4 separate regions of the Homo sapiens genome follow, and all the other regions are linked to region 1. The links are contacts of gene promoters, found by promoter capture Hi-C in blood cells and fetal thymus (Javierre and others, 2016). All regions are on one chromosome and are shown on one strand. The core of a region is centred on a gene start or on the middle of the fragment in contact, and the rest is flanking DNA. Distances in the headings are between cores, read along the strand shown.

The links. The method cuts DNA at HindIII sites, captures the fragments that hold promoters and counts their contacts. A CHiCAGO score of 5 or more calls a contact.
Region 2: the fragment with the promoter of KRTAP21-1 here is called in contact with the fragment with the promoter of KRTAP20-3 in region 1 in 1 of 17 cell types (neutrophils); the score reaches 9.1 in neutrophils.
Region 3: the fragment with the promoter of KRTAP19-6 here is called in contact with the fragment with the promoter of KRTAP20-3 in region 1 in 1 of 17 cell types (neutrophils); the score reaches 7.5 in neutrophils.
Region 4: the fragment with the promoter of KRTAP21-3 here is called in contact with the fragment with the promoter of KRTAP20-3 in region 1 in 1 of 17 cell types (neutrophils); the score reaches 12.8 in neutrophils.

Annotation. Positions count from the first base shown.
Region 1 is chr21:30,641,254-30,644,497 of GRCh38, reverse strand. It overlaps KRTAP20-3 (keratin associated protein 20-3), which reads right to left and starts at 1,634. Exons shown (of 1, transcript NM_001128077.1): 1 at 1,362-1,634. The coding sequence starts at 1,609. The coding sequence ends at 1,475. The HindIII fragment of the contact is 10,269 bases long and covers 1-3,244 here.
Region 2 is chr21:30,753,724-30,756,967 of GRCh38, reverse strand. It overlaps KRTAP21-1 (keratin associated protein 21-1), which reads left to right and starts at 1,540. Exons shown (of 1, transcript NM_181619.2): 1 at 1,540-1,953. The coding sequence starts at 1,590. The coding sequence ends at 1,829. The HindIII fragment of the contact is 7,815 bases long and covers 1-3,244 here.
Region 3 is chr21:30,540,217-30,543,460 of GRCh38, reverse strand. KRTAP19-6 (keratin associated protein 19-6) reads left to right here and starts at 1,597. Exons shown (of 1, transcript NM_181612.3): 1 at 1,597-1,926. The coding sequence starts at 1,628. The coding sequence ends at 1,804. The HindIII fragment of the contact is 6,762 bases long and covers 1,052-3,244 here.
Region 4 is chr21:30,717,298-30,720,541 of GRCh38, reverse strand. It overlaps KRTAP21-3 (keratin associated protein 21-3), which reads left to right and starts at 1,765. Exons shown (of 1, transcript NM_001164435.1): 1 at 1,765-2,017. The coding sequence starts at 1,783. The coding sequence ends at 1,959. All of the region lies in intron 2 of LOC105372773 (a long non-coding RNA gene), which reads left to right. The HindIII fragment of the contact is 10,011 bases long and covers 1,640-3,244 here.

The DNA of each region.
Region 1 (3,244 bases), core at 385-2,884:
TTTTATTTTATTTTTCCATGAGTTATTGGGGTACAGTTGGTATTTGATTACATGAGTAGGTTCTTTAGTGGTGATTTGTGAGATTTTGGTGCACCTGTCACCCAAGCAGTATACACTGCACCATATTTGTAGTCTTTTATCCCTCACCTCCTTCTCACCCTTCCCCCCACATTCCCAAAGTCCATTGTATCATTCTTATACTTTTGCATCCTCATAGTTTAGCTCCCACATATCAGTGAGAACATACGATGTTTGGTTTTCCATTCCTGAGTTACTTCACTTAGAATAATAGTTTCCAATCTCATCCAGGTAAAGGAAAATATTACAACTTTATAAAACATTATCCAGTACACCCATTGCAAAATATATATGGCCTTGATGTTCTAGTTTCTCTTCACTGCCCAGGGCTTCATTTCCTGCCAGTGACTTTGCCCACTGTTCTCTCAAGAAATAACATCAATTTATGACTTTGCAGTGCAATACTTTTTTCATGGCTTTGCATATTTGTTTCCCCTGCCTGGCATACACTTTACCTCCAATGTATTTTTCGTTGGTTAAAAATTTATTCAAATGTAACCTTCAATGAGAATATTTTTGATCTGTTTGCTCTACAATCTCGCTCTTTTGCATCCAAACATGAGCTTCTCCTCTGTGTTCCTACGTGGCTATTACATCACCTATCATGTTGTAGCATACATGTTTATTTAAACATTTGTTTTTCTGCTTAAAAACTCTTCTCCCATAAGTAACACTAAGACTTAACAGGAAGCCCTATATAGAAATTACTTAATGAGGACTTATTAAACAAGTGAGTAATTAATAAATTTAAAAAATGAATGACATTGGCCTGGCCAAAGTAAGTTTAATTAAAAATAAACCTAGAGCTCCCTACTCCTGAAACATATCAAAAAGTAATTTGCTTGGTAAATTATGAAAACACATCAGTTTGGAAGAGAAAAATGTAGTTAATCTGGGGCACTGATGTGGATTTAGTGTGAATTTAATGATGTGTGTTCTTTGCCTAGAATTAGATTGAATAACTAAGCATTATTTTTGTTTTTTTGAGATGGAATCTCATTTTGTTGCTCAGGCTGGAGTGCAGTGGTGCCATCTCGGCTGACTGCAACCTCTGCCTTTGGGTTCAAGTGATCCTCCTGCCTCAGCCTCCCCAGTAGCTGGGGCTACAGGCACCCACCACCACACCTGGCTATTTTTTTAACTTTTAGTAGAGATGGGATTTTGCCATGTTGGCCAGGCTGGTCTCGAACTCCTAACCCCAGGTGATCCACCCGCCTCGGCCTCCTAAAGTGCTGGGATTATAGGGAATCATTAAGAATTCTAATTGGGTTAAACAAATTAAAAAAAGTGTAGTAGAACAGCACCCCTGTCTCATAAGAAAATGGACCCAATTGTAGATATTATTCAGTCAGTGCCTGATAATAAGCATGTAGCATAATCATATTGGTGGCAGCAGTCAAATCCATACCCCACCACAGCCACATCTGTAGCCACAGTCCAGGATTCTAAAGGCACCAAAGCCAGAGGTATAACTATATTTACAGTCATAGCCATAGCCCAGTCCTCCGTAGTAGTTGCCATAGTAGCTCATTGTGTCAGGATTTAAGTCTCTAGCCTGAGAGGCCAGCATAAGTTTTAGTGCATAAAAACACTAAAATACTGGGTCTTTTATCAGTCTCAGTGGAGGTGTGACAAACCACAGGCACTCCTGACATTGTCATATAGACCAACCTGTATTTAAAAATCTCATTAATCTTGTATCTTTAGATTTTAAAAAAAGACTCCCTATCCTGATAAAATTGAGATTTTCTTCTCAGTATGTTATGATCCTGCCAAACAGCTGATAGACTTTAAAGGAAAAAAAAATACTGAGTTCCATGACCTTACTCACACTGATGCCGAATTTAACCTTTGTAGCTATGTTGGATGACATCACGTGGAGGAGGCAAATGCCATCCTCTTCCGATCACTTTGCTAATAATACCCTTCTTCTTATATGCATATTTAAATCTTAATCAACACAGCTGTGATGTTATCGCTATAAAACTTAGTAGCAAATACAGTGGACTCTTGAATACCATGAGTTTGAACTGCACAGATACGCTTATATTAAGCAGATTTTCTTCACCTCTGCCACTCCGGCAGCAAGACCAACCCCTCCTCCTCCTTCTCCTCCTCAACCTACTCAACATGAAGACAATAAGGCTGAAGACCTTTATGATGATCCACTTCCACTTAGTGAATAGTAAATCCATTTTCTCTTTTTCTTTATTTTCTTAATAAAATTTTCTTTTCTTTAGCCTACTTTATTATAGGAGTATAATCTCTCATTACAGGTAACATAAGCATGTATTAATCAACTGTTTATGTTATTGGTAAGGCTTCTGGTCAACAGTAGGCTATTAGTAGTTAAGTTTTTGGGGAGTCAAAAGTTATACTCAGATTTTCAACTGCGTGGAGGTTGGCACTCCTAATCCCTGCATTGTTCAAGGATCAACTGTGATTTATTCTGTACAAACTCCCACCAATCACATATTATTCTGTAGTTTTCCTATTGCTATGCTCTCTTAAAAGTAGTGCCCTTTTCTTGCCTGTTTAGTTCCTTCTTCTCCACACCTTAAGCATTCTTTAAAAAGTTGTTTGGTTGATTATCTTGTACCTGCACTGCAATGTAGATATGTTTCTTCGGAGAAAAGAAAAGCATTGAGAATCTTATCTGATTCCAAAGTCACAGGAACGTAAAGTAGACATTTTTGAGACCCAAATATAACAGAAGGCATGACTATTAATTTTTCTGTAGGGATATTGACTCTGTCTGTATCATGTACTTATATGTAGACTTAAGTTCTCAAAGGCAGGCTGAATCTAGATACTATCATTTCTTAAGATGATTAAAAATAATTGAAAATTTTCCTTCACCACTGACCTTTAGGGTAATCCCCGATTTGATCTGTTGTACTTCAGTCATCCACTTTTAGGCAGTGCTACCATATTGGCAGAACCATCTATAATCCAGGACTAATTTTTCCTTCTCCAACTGGAAAATCAGCATAAATTCATAGGTGTATGTTGAGAAAGAAGAGACAACTCAGCAGAGAGGAAACCATGAGAATCCAAGCCAATTGCTTCTGTAAGTTGTTTGTGCTTTCACAACTCCCTTAAGCCCAACCTTATGTTCCCCACCTTCACTTGATGACAGAGAGCTGGTGTGTATGCTCAACTTTCT
Region 2 (3,244 bases), core at 291-2,790, 110 kb before region 1:
CTTTTATTAGTAAACAGGATAAAGTTTCACCAAAGCATGACAAATCTATTATATTCGTCTGCATATAGGAGCAAACAAGAGGATCCACTTGTGAAGTAGAATTTATAGTTTTGAATTTCAAGGATGAAAAAACAGAAAGAAACTAAAGGAAAAGAAAAAATTGAGACAGAGATCTATTTATGCTTTTTTTAAGGGACTAAACATAGCAGAGAAATGAGATGAGACGAGTGACAGATAGCAGAAAAAAAAGGAAAGATTTCCAACTGAAGGGAAAATGTAATCCACAGTAGCAATGAGGAAAGGCATCCTGTAGAAAGTGATTCCAGATCTGACTTTTGATGTATAAACAGAAGGTTTTTTTGGTTGATAATTGAGGGTGATGAGAAAAATACTAATGGCAGAAAAAATGATACTAATTTTCCTCTTTTGTATCTTGAAAAGGTAAGTGTGATAGAGAGGATTGTTGGGAAGAAGGAGGGCACCTCGGATTTCAAAATCACGATGAATATTTTTGTAGAAGATTGAGAACTTGTAATAAGTGGGTAATTGAGAATTTTGAATGAGTAGTGTGAAATGCGTGTATGGAAACGGGACAAAATTTATTTTTGTGCTACTTTATATCATAGAAGGGTTAGTTGTTAATGGTGGGCTTTTGCTGTCAGTAACCTAAAATTGTCCACTATCCTTTAGCTTCTGAAGTAAATGTCCAAGGAATAGTAGTGAAAGGAGAAGAAAAATGGTTTATTAAATTCTAGGAATGTATCTGTATTTCATCATGCAAAACTTTGATGAAATCTGTATTGGAGGAAAGAACTGAGTTTCTGGTCGAATGAATTTTTTTACTTCCTTATCCAAATGAAGCTGTTTAGTTTTAAAAAGGCTCCTCAATGACAATTACTTATATAGCTGAAGAAATGGGAGACAAAAGGAGGGCTTCTCTGCCTCCCCAGGGTCTTGGTTTGCCTGGTGGATGGAAGGAAAATGTAGGAAGCACTTGCAGATAGCATACATTCTGGCTTTGAATGATCAGATGTGAATATGTTTCTTGGGATTTGAGGGAGGTTGGACAAGGGGTAGGTGTGGAAGTGCAGAGTGAGTTGGAGAAAGAAGTCTGGCAAGAAGTTGTAATGACTCAGGAAAGGAGATAGGAGTGTCTCCTTCCCTATGGGTAGAGGTAGACATTTTAGGAAAAAAGAGAGGAAAAAAAGGATAAAATTTTGTTATTATCCTCCCAAAACTTGTTATGTAAGATATAAATTTACTGATAGGAGATTTTGAAAATTAGTATCAGCTTTATATTTGGGCACATGATTTCATTGAGGCAGTTCTTTGGCAGAGCAGATTAAAATGATGTTCCTGAAATGAAACTAGAGTCTCCAAAATAATTGGCTCATTTTAAGCAAAATATTATTGATGGTCAACAGTGACTGGCACATAATAATTGATTAAATATTTGTTGCCTAAGTCAGGGAATGAGTGATATGCTTTGGCAATTACTGACAGTATATAAAGGTCTCAGGGAAGTAGAAGACATCCACACCTCAGAAGCATCTTCTTGAAACCCATCTCAATTCTCTCCTCTTGACAACATGTGTTGCAACTACTACGGCAACTCCTGTGGCTATGGCTCCGGCTGTGGCTGTGGCTATGGCTCTGGCTCTGGCTGTGGCTGTGGCTATGGAACTGGCTATGGCTGTGGGTATGGCTGTGGGTTTGGCTCCCATTATGGCTGTGGTTATGGAACTGGCTATGGCTGTGGATATGGCTCTGGCTCTGGCTACTGTGGCTACCGGCCATTTTGCTTTAGAAGATGCTATTCTTCCTGCTAAAACATCACTGTCGGAGGACCATTTGCTTCTAAAATGACACGTCTGAAGATAATGCTGATTCAAGGATTCGTACTCCAAGATTTCTATATCCAAGAATTACATGCTTGACAGAATCTTCGACCTCTAGCCTCACATTTCTTTGAATGAAATCATGGCCATAGGATCCATGGTGTCATCTGACTGTTTTCCAAATGTTATCTTTTGCTCCCTTAATCTCTGATTCTCTGTTATGACTGTGTTAATGATCATAACATCTACAGTTGCGGAAGTCAATCATTTGTAATAAAAATGGTTCTTTATTCCTAAAAATCTTTGTGTACTTGCTTGTGAATTACTCTTTCTTGGGGTGTTTTGGAATCTCTTGAAAATTGGGCTAACAGTATGTTGGCTGAACCTTAGGTACTTCCTTGATATAACGCAATTATTTCCTCTTATGCTTGCATCATAAATAATGTCTTCTCTACCTGCTTCTCATATCCCACATGCTCAGGTTCTCACATACCCAAGCACAAATCACAGAGTATTTCAGAACTGTGCTTTGGAAATGGCACTGAGTGTCTAGAATGGAGCTGGAGGGGGAAAGGGAGGCAAAGTGACACCTATTCAGGATGTTATGACAAAAGTCTCAGGGAGGAGATATAGCCTGAGTGCTTAAAGAAGTAATATAATCCCAGCACTTTGGGAGGCTGAGGTGGGTGGATCACCTGAGGTCAGGAGTTCGAGACCAGCCTGGCCAACATTGTGAAACTCTGTTTCTACTAAAAATACAAAAATTAGCTGGGCTTGGTGGTGCGTGCCTGTAATTCCATCTACTCAGGAGGTGGAGACAGGAGAATTGCTTGAACCCTTAGGAGGTGGAGGTTGCAGTGAGCCGAGATTGCTTGGGTGACACACTGAGACTCCATCACACACACAAAAAAAAGTAATGCAATAGGAGAGATCACTTCCAGGATTGTTGAAAATTTTGAGTCAGGGTCAAGTGTTAGGCAAGAGGAAATAAAAACCTAAAAAAGGGTAAGTTCAAAGAAAAAATATACTATCAAATGTATCTACATCTGACAAAAGTACAAATATATATGTTTGCTTACATGGAGGTTGAGAAATGCTATTTAATTCACTTAAATATTTTTGAATAGACACCATCCTGAAGACACAGAAGAAAAATTATAAGCAAATGTTCTGCTCTCAGAATGTTTATAGTCTAACAGATGAAGATTTAAAGAAGCAAAAATAGGCCAGATGTGGTGGCTCATGCCTGTTAATCCCTGCACTTTGGGAGGCTGAGGCAGGTGGATCACTTGAGGTCAGGAGTTCGAGACCAGCCTGGCCAACATGGCGAAACCCCGTCTCTACTAAGAATACAAAAATTAGCCAGGCGTGGTGATGGGCGCCTGTAATCCCAGCTACTTGGGAGG
Region 3 (3,244 bases), core at 348-2,847, 100 kb after region 1:
GAAGCTACCATATGACACAGAAATCCCACTGCTGGTGCTAAACTCATCTTTAGCATCAAACCTAATCTCTAGTCCCTGACACCATGAGCTACTACAGCAGCTACTATGGAGGCCTGGTATACATCCAAAGGAAGGGAAAACAGTATATCAAAGAGATATGTGCACTCCCATGTTTGTTGCAGCACTGTTCATAATAGCAAAGATTTGGAAGCAACCTAATTTTCCACCAACAGATGAATGGATAAAGAAAATGTGGTATGTATACACAATGGAGTACTAGTCAACCATAAAAAATAATGAGATCCTGTCATTTGCAACAGAATGGATGGAACTGGTCGTCATTATGCTAAGTGAAATAAGTCAGGCACAGAAAAACAAACTTTGTATGTTCTCACTTATTTGTGGGAGCTAAAAATTGAAAACAATTGAACTCATGGAGATAGAGACTAGAAGGATGGTTAACAGAGAATGGAAAGGGGAGTAGGTGGGTGCAGGGTAGGGGTGGGGAGGGATGTGAGTGATGGAGGAGTAGGGGTGGTTAATGGGTACAAAGGAATAGAAATGATGAATAAGACCTAGTATTTGATAGCACAAAAGTGTGGCCATACTAAGTTATACTCTCTTAGTTATTTTAAAATGTATAATTAAATTGCATTTAAATTAAATTATTGATTTAATCGAACATTTTAAAATAAGAGAGTGTAATTGAATTGCTTTAACACAAAGGATAAATGCTTGAGGGGATGGATACCCTATTTATCATTTACCAGTGATTATTACTCCATTAACCAGTGATTAGTATGCATTGTCATGTCTGTATAAAAGTATTTCATATACCCCATAGATATATATACTCTACTATGTATTCTTAAAAATAAAATTTGAAAAAAGAAAAATAATATTTAATGGAACTTCATGGGAAAAGTGTATGCAGAGGAAAAGGTACACTTTTGAAGTTAATGGATGAATAAAAAATTGGGAAGAAGCCTAACAAAAAATTGGCAGAGGAAGCTAATTGAAGGTTTCTCATAGAAATTAAGGCAAGAAAGCTTTACAAAAGAATGAATGGATGGAAGGTTAGCAATGTCAAAGGTCAATTAAAGTTCAAATGAGTCAAAAACCAAGGTTTCCTCTAAATTTGACTACTGGAAATCACTAATGACTTTGTGACTATGCCCTGACTACCATGAAGAGAAGTCCTTGGGTTCTGGGAATGAAGTAACCAAGACGATGGACTGCAAATTAAAAAGAAAAGCAATATGAGGTTATGTAATTACAGCGTTACTGGAAGCTATCAACCCGATTAGACCATTTTAATTACAACACCAGCCTGGCCTTTGAAGTGGCTATAATCATTTTTCATCTTCAAAATATTTTGTTCTTAGGAATGCAAACTAAAGACTAAAAGTCTTTAAATAATAGTTTGGACCCTTTGTTACATAAGAAAAGAAAAAAAATAAACAATTGTTAGACTTAAAATTATTCTGTTATGTGGAAATAAGATCACCTGTCATTGTTGTTCATGACACCCACTACTTAGAGTATAAAATCATTCTGAGAAGTTAGAGACACCTACACTCAGGAAACTCATCATTAGCATTGAACTGAATCTCTAGTCCCTGACACCATGAGATACTATGGCAGCTACTACAGAGGCCTGGGATATGGCTGTGGAGGCTTTGGTGGTCTGGGCTATGGCTGTGGCTGTGGAGGCTACAGATATGGCTCTGGCTATGGAGGCTATAGATATGGCTGCTGCCGCCCATCATGCCGTGAAGGATATGGATTCTCTGGATTCTACTAAAAAACTTGCTGATTCTCATACTCTAACTCCAAGATCTTGCCCGTATGCTTCAGCAAGGCGAACACTTTTCTCAATGTAGAGAAAATACCTACCATTTTTTGGCTTCATGCTCCAGAAGGAACTAGCCATCAGTTTTTATGGAAGAATCTGGAATCATTACATTGAATCAGGGTTTCACCTATTATTATTTAGTCACTGACATCTGTTGTGACATGTATTTTAAAATAGTTTTAAATAAACACGTTTAACTTGAATAGCAAACATGGCTTTATCAATTCATTTTAGTACATTTCAAATGCATTGATGAGACTTCAATCAAGCTGTTTGTCTTCTTTCCTCTGAATTGGTGTTTTTATTTCAACAGTTTTGCCTCAATAATATATTTTATTCAACATATATTCATTGTGTGTCTCCAAATTTGGGCACCATTCTAAGTCCTGAAGATATAAAAGAATAAGATGGACAAAATCACTGTGTACTTTCATCTGTCTTTACTTTTTATCTGTTTTCAGTGGTTTTGTGTGTGATTTTGTTTTTAGAATATGATTATGTACACTATTATTTTTATGACTTAGTTTTAAACAATAACTTATTGCAATCTTCATTCCAATTAGTGTGTTTGTATTCTGAGGTTTATCTCAAAGCACAGTAATTCTATGTTAATCAATGAAAGCGAATTTTAAATAAAACATTGAGTTAATATAAATAATATTTGTAATAATACGTAAGGTCTAAAGAATGCTATCAAAGCTCGCATGTACCCAACACTGACTTATCAAATGTATAATGTCCTTTATGTATAATCAATTTTAAACTATTGAACATATGAGAATCTACTCTACCTCCTTGACAAGTTAAATTACTTGTCTTTCTGTGTTCCTACCTGTAGAGTTCAAGCCTTGCTTCCCAAAAGATATTATTTCTCAAAAGTAAACCTGAGGGATGTCTGAATTAAAAACACCGAGAGAGGCCGGGCACGCTGGCTCATGCTTGTAACCCCAGCACTTTGGGAGGCCGAGGCGGGTGGATCACCCAGGGTCAGGAGTTCGAGACCAGCCTGGTCAACATGGTGAAACCCCGTCTCTACTAAAAAAACAAAAATTGGCTGGGTGTGGTGGCACGTGCCTGTGGTCCCAGCTACTTGGGAGGCTGAGGTGGGAGAATCGCTTGAACCTGGGAGGCAGAAGTTGTAGTGGGCCGAGATTATGTCACTACACTCCAGCTTGGGTGACAGAATGAAACTCTGTTTAAAAAAAGAAAAAAGAAAAGAAAAGAAAAGAAAAAAAAAGAAAAGAAAAACCCCATGACAACATTTTTACCAATTTAATTTTTAATTTTCTGGAGGATAACTTAGATAATTAGTTTTCATTAGTTTTGCTATTGGTCTGCTGACTACTCGTCAAAATTTCCTTGAAAATAACTATTCTAGATAGTACTTAA
Region 4 (3,244 bases), core at 516-3,015, 76 kb before region 1:
CCTATTTGCTTGTGCTGTATAAAAACGCCAACAGTCTCTTTAGTGATTTGGAAACTTGAACACTCATAAGATTTTCATATTTGAACATATACTCTAAGACGATAACTTTCAAAAGAACTTAAAAGTTATTTCTCAACTTAAAAAGTTATTTTGTTACACAAATATGTTAGTTTATTGAAGAATGTCAAGCTGGTTTTCTTTACACAGTTGTCCTCCTAAGGATAATTAAAATGCTATCATGGCGTTCCAGTTTGTACTCCTACTACAATACCTGGCATTTAGGTGCAAGTAAAACTTACAGCGCATATGTAAATTGTGAATACTCTGAAGGTGTTTTTATTTTATAGTGTTTGATAGCACATTTTAAAATCTTGGAAACTCTATTTCTTGGAATACATTTTAATACCTCCCAGTCCTAGTGTTCCTGGAAACATAATTGGAAAATAAAATGCCACAAATTCAATGCAACCATGGCTAGTGCTCAAGGAAAGATCTTTGCTCAAGAGAATAATTTAGCAAATAATGGTTTCGAAGAAATAGGACATTACTAAGTACACTGGATAAATGGTTGTGATTTCTGTATCTCAAAATATTGAGCTGATTATGCCATTAATTTGCTCAAAATCTTCTCTGGTTCTCCATTACCTTTAGAATGAATTCCACACTTTTTACCTTAATATTCAAAGCTCTTTATTATTTGGCCCCAGTTTATTATACTTTTTTAAAATCTATTTTATTCCCTAAAGAAAAAAAGAAATTCCTGCCTTCACAGATATCCTATATTCCAGTGAGAAAAACAGTCAACAAAATTAGTAAAATGCAAGTCTATCATATGGTGATAAATGGCTTGATAAATGCTAAGTAGAGAATAAAGATATATCTGTGGGAGGGTGCTAGCTATAAATAATACTGTTCAGGGAGGGCCTCCTTGAGTGACATTTGAACACACTCTGATGGCAATGAGGGAATGAGTCATAGATATGGGTGTTAAATTGTAAAAACTGCAGGTGAAAGCCCAGCATGGATGAAGGCCCTAAGTGGACCTGGTCTGGATTGTTTTGAGGTCTATTTCATAGGATTTCTCTTTCCTTTTTCTCTAACCGCATCAATCTGAGACTTTTTTTGTGTAAATGTTTCTCTTCCTTACTAAGCTGGGAGTTCATTGAAGGTCTGTTCTTGGTCTTATTTATGTTTTTCATTTTTATTTTTATGTTATTTTCAGCAGTGCCTACTGTCATGTTCTGTTTTTTAGGAAAGTTCTCAATAAATTCTAATATTATAGAATTGAACGCATGTTTCTCAATTTAGCCTTCCTATGCCTATCCTCTCCTGAGTAGTACAGTTGTGGATTGGATGGTAATACTGGTGGCACCTGAAAAGGTAGGAATCACTAAGCCCCTTCCTTTCTCTAGGAGGCTGGGGATGGGGATTCTCAATGTTTTGGGTTAGAGCTGAGGGAAGTACTTCCCTGCAAGATTTAGCATCATGATATTTGTGGAGTGTACATTTGGGGCTCACTGAGAACATGTATACAGAGTGTACAAATTACTTTTTACAGTCTATGATTAACTTGCAGGAATTAAATGAAGGTCTAAAATGAGAGGCTTTCTTAGGACACAGAATAAAACAACAACAAGCTTGTTAAATATAAATTCTTGTGGGAATGAGAAGGCAAAGTAGGGATGGCACACACTTTGCAGACCTCTTATTATATAGAAAGATCCCAAGGGTTCCAAACTCCAGAAATGCTGTTACCTGGCTGAATTCTCATCTCCTGACACTATGTATTTCAATTACAAAAGTGTGTGTGGGAGCTGTGGATTTGGCTCTTGCTATGGTTGTGGGTATGGCTGTATACACAGCACCCACTGTGGCTGTAACGGTTATTATGGTTGTTATGAAAATAAATATTCTGTTATAGATGATCTGATATTTTTTGCTTCTAAGAAATGCCATTGAGCATTGTTTCTTATTTAGTTTCTCAAAGATCTGTTCTGCTTTAATCACCTTCAATCCTGATAGTTCTCCGTTAGAGAAAAATGACTCATCTGGTGAAAACTCCATTTGTCTTCAAAGTACCTGTTAGTCATAGACATAATGTGGTTTCACTGAGAGATGGAAAATATGACTATTTTGAAATTTTGAAAAATATAAAATGCTCTTTGTGTGCGTGTGTGAGTCAACACCAATTTGGGGCATGTTTTACCCCCTTGAAAGCCAGACCACTATGTAGATTAGTTGATCCTTAGCTTCTTAGAAATTTCTTCTTAACTTTCAATAACTCTTTTTCTCTTTATCTTTTCTACTCTACATAAAACTTGAGTTATTTAATTGTCAGTATCCACCACATATTTAATATTAAATAAATATGTACCTGTTAATTAGATATACTTCTAAATATACAAAATGAAGAAAGGAAGTGGAATGATATCATCCTTAGTGTAGAATAGTAGATTATTATCAGCCAAAGAAAAGGGAGGAGGAGAGAGAATCACTGAAACATTTTTTTTTTTTTTCGAGATGGAGTCTCGCTCTGTCACCCAGGCTGGAGTGCAGTGGCGCGATCTTGGCTCACTGCAACCTCCGCCTCCCAGGTTCAAGTGATTCTCCTGCTTCAGCCTCCCAAGTAGCTGGGATTGAGGCACCCGCCACCGCGCCTGGCTAATTTTTGTATTTTTAGTAGAGACGGGGTTTCACCATGTTGGCCAGGCTGGTCTCGAACTCCTGACCTTATAATCCACCCGCCTTGGCTACACACACACACACACACACACACACACGAACACAATGATTCTAATTCTAATTCCGTCGGCCTTTTCTCAAACATTCTCATAGACAGTTCTGTCACTTTTTTTGGGATTCTGGTTAATATGAACTCCTTAGGAGACTTTGCCTAACATTCCACTTGAAATAGAAATGACATTCTTACACTATTTCCCTGTTCATCACCTTGCATCTACTTCTCCTCTTCCTCCTCTTCTCCCTTCTCCTCCTCCTTCTACTTCTCCTCATATCTTTCTCTCTCTCAAAATCAAAGTCAAAAATCAGTTGTTTTTTTCTTCAGTTATATTTGTTACATAATTATAAAATTATTTAAGAAAGCCCGGTGACAGAGTGAGACTCATCTAAAAAAAAAAAAAATTCCTGACTCCATTCCTGTGGTGGCGAAGGAATTGCTCTATGAGACTGCTATGTATGATAAAGTGAGTCTAGGACTATTTATATGGGGATATCAAACAATTCT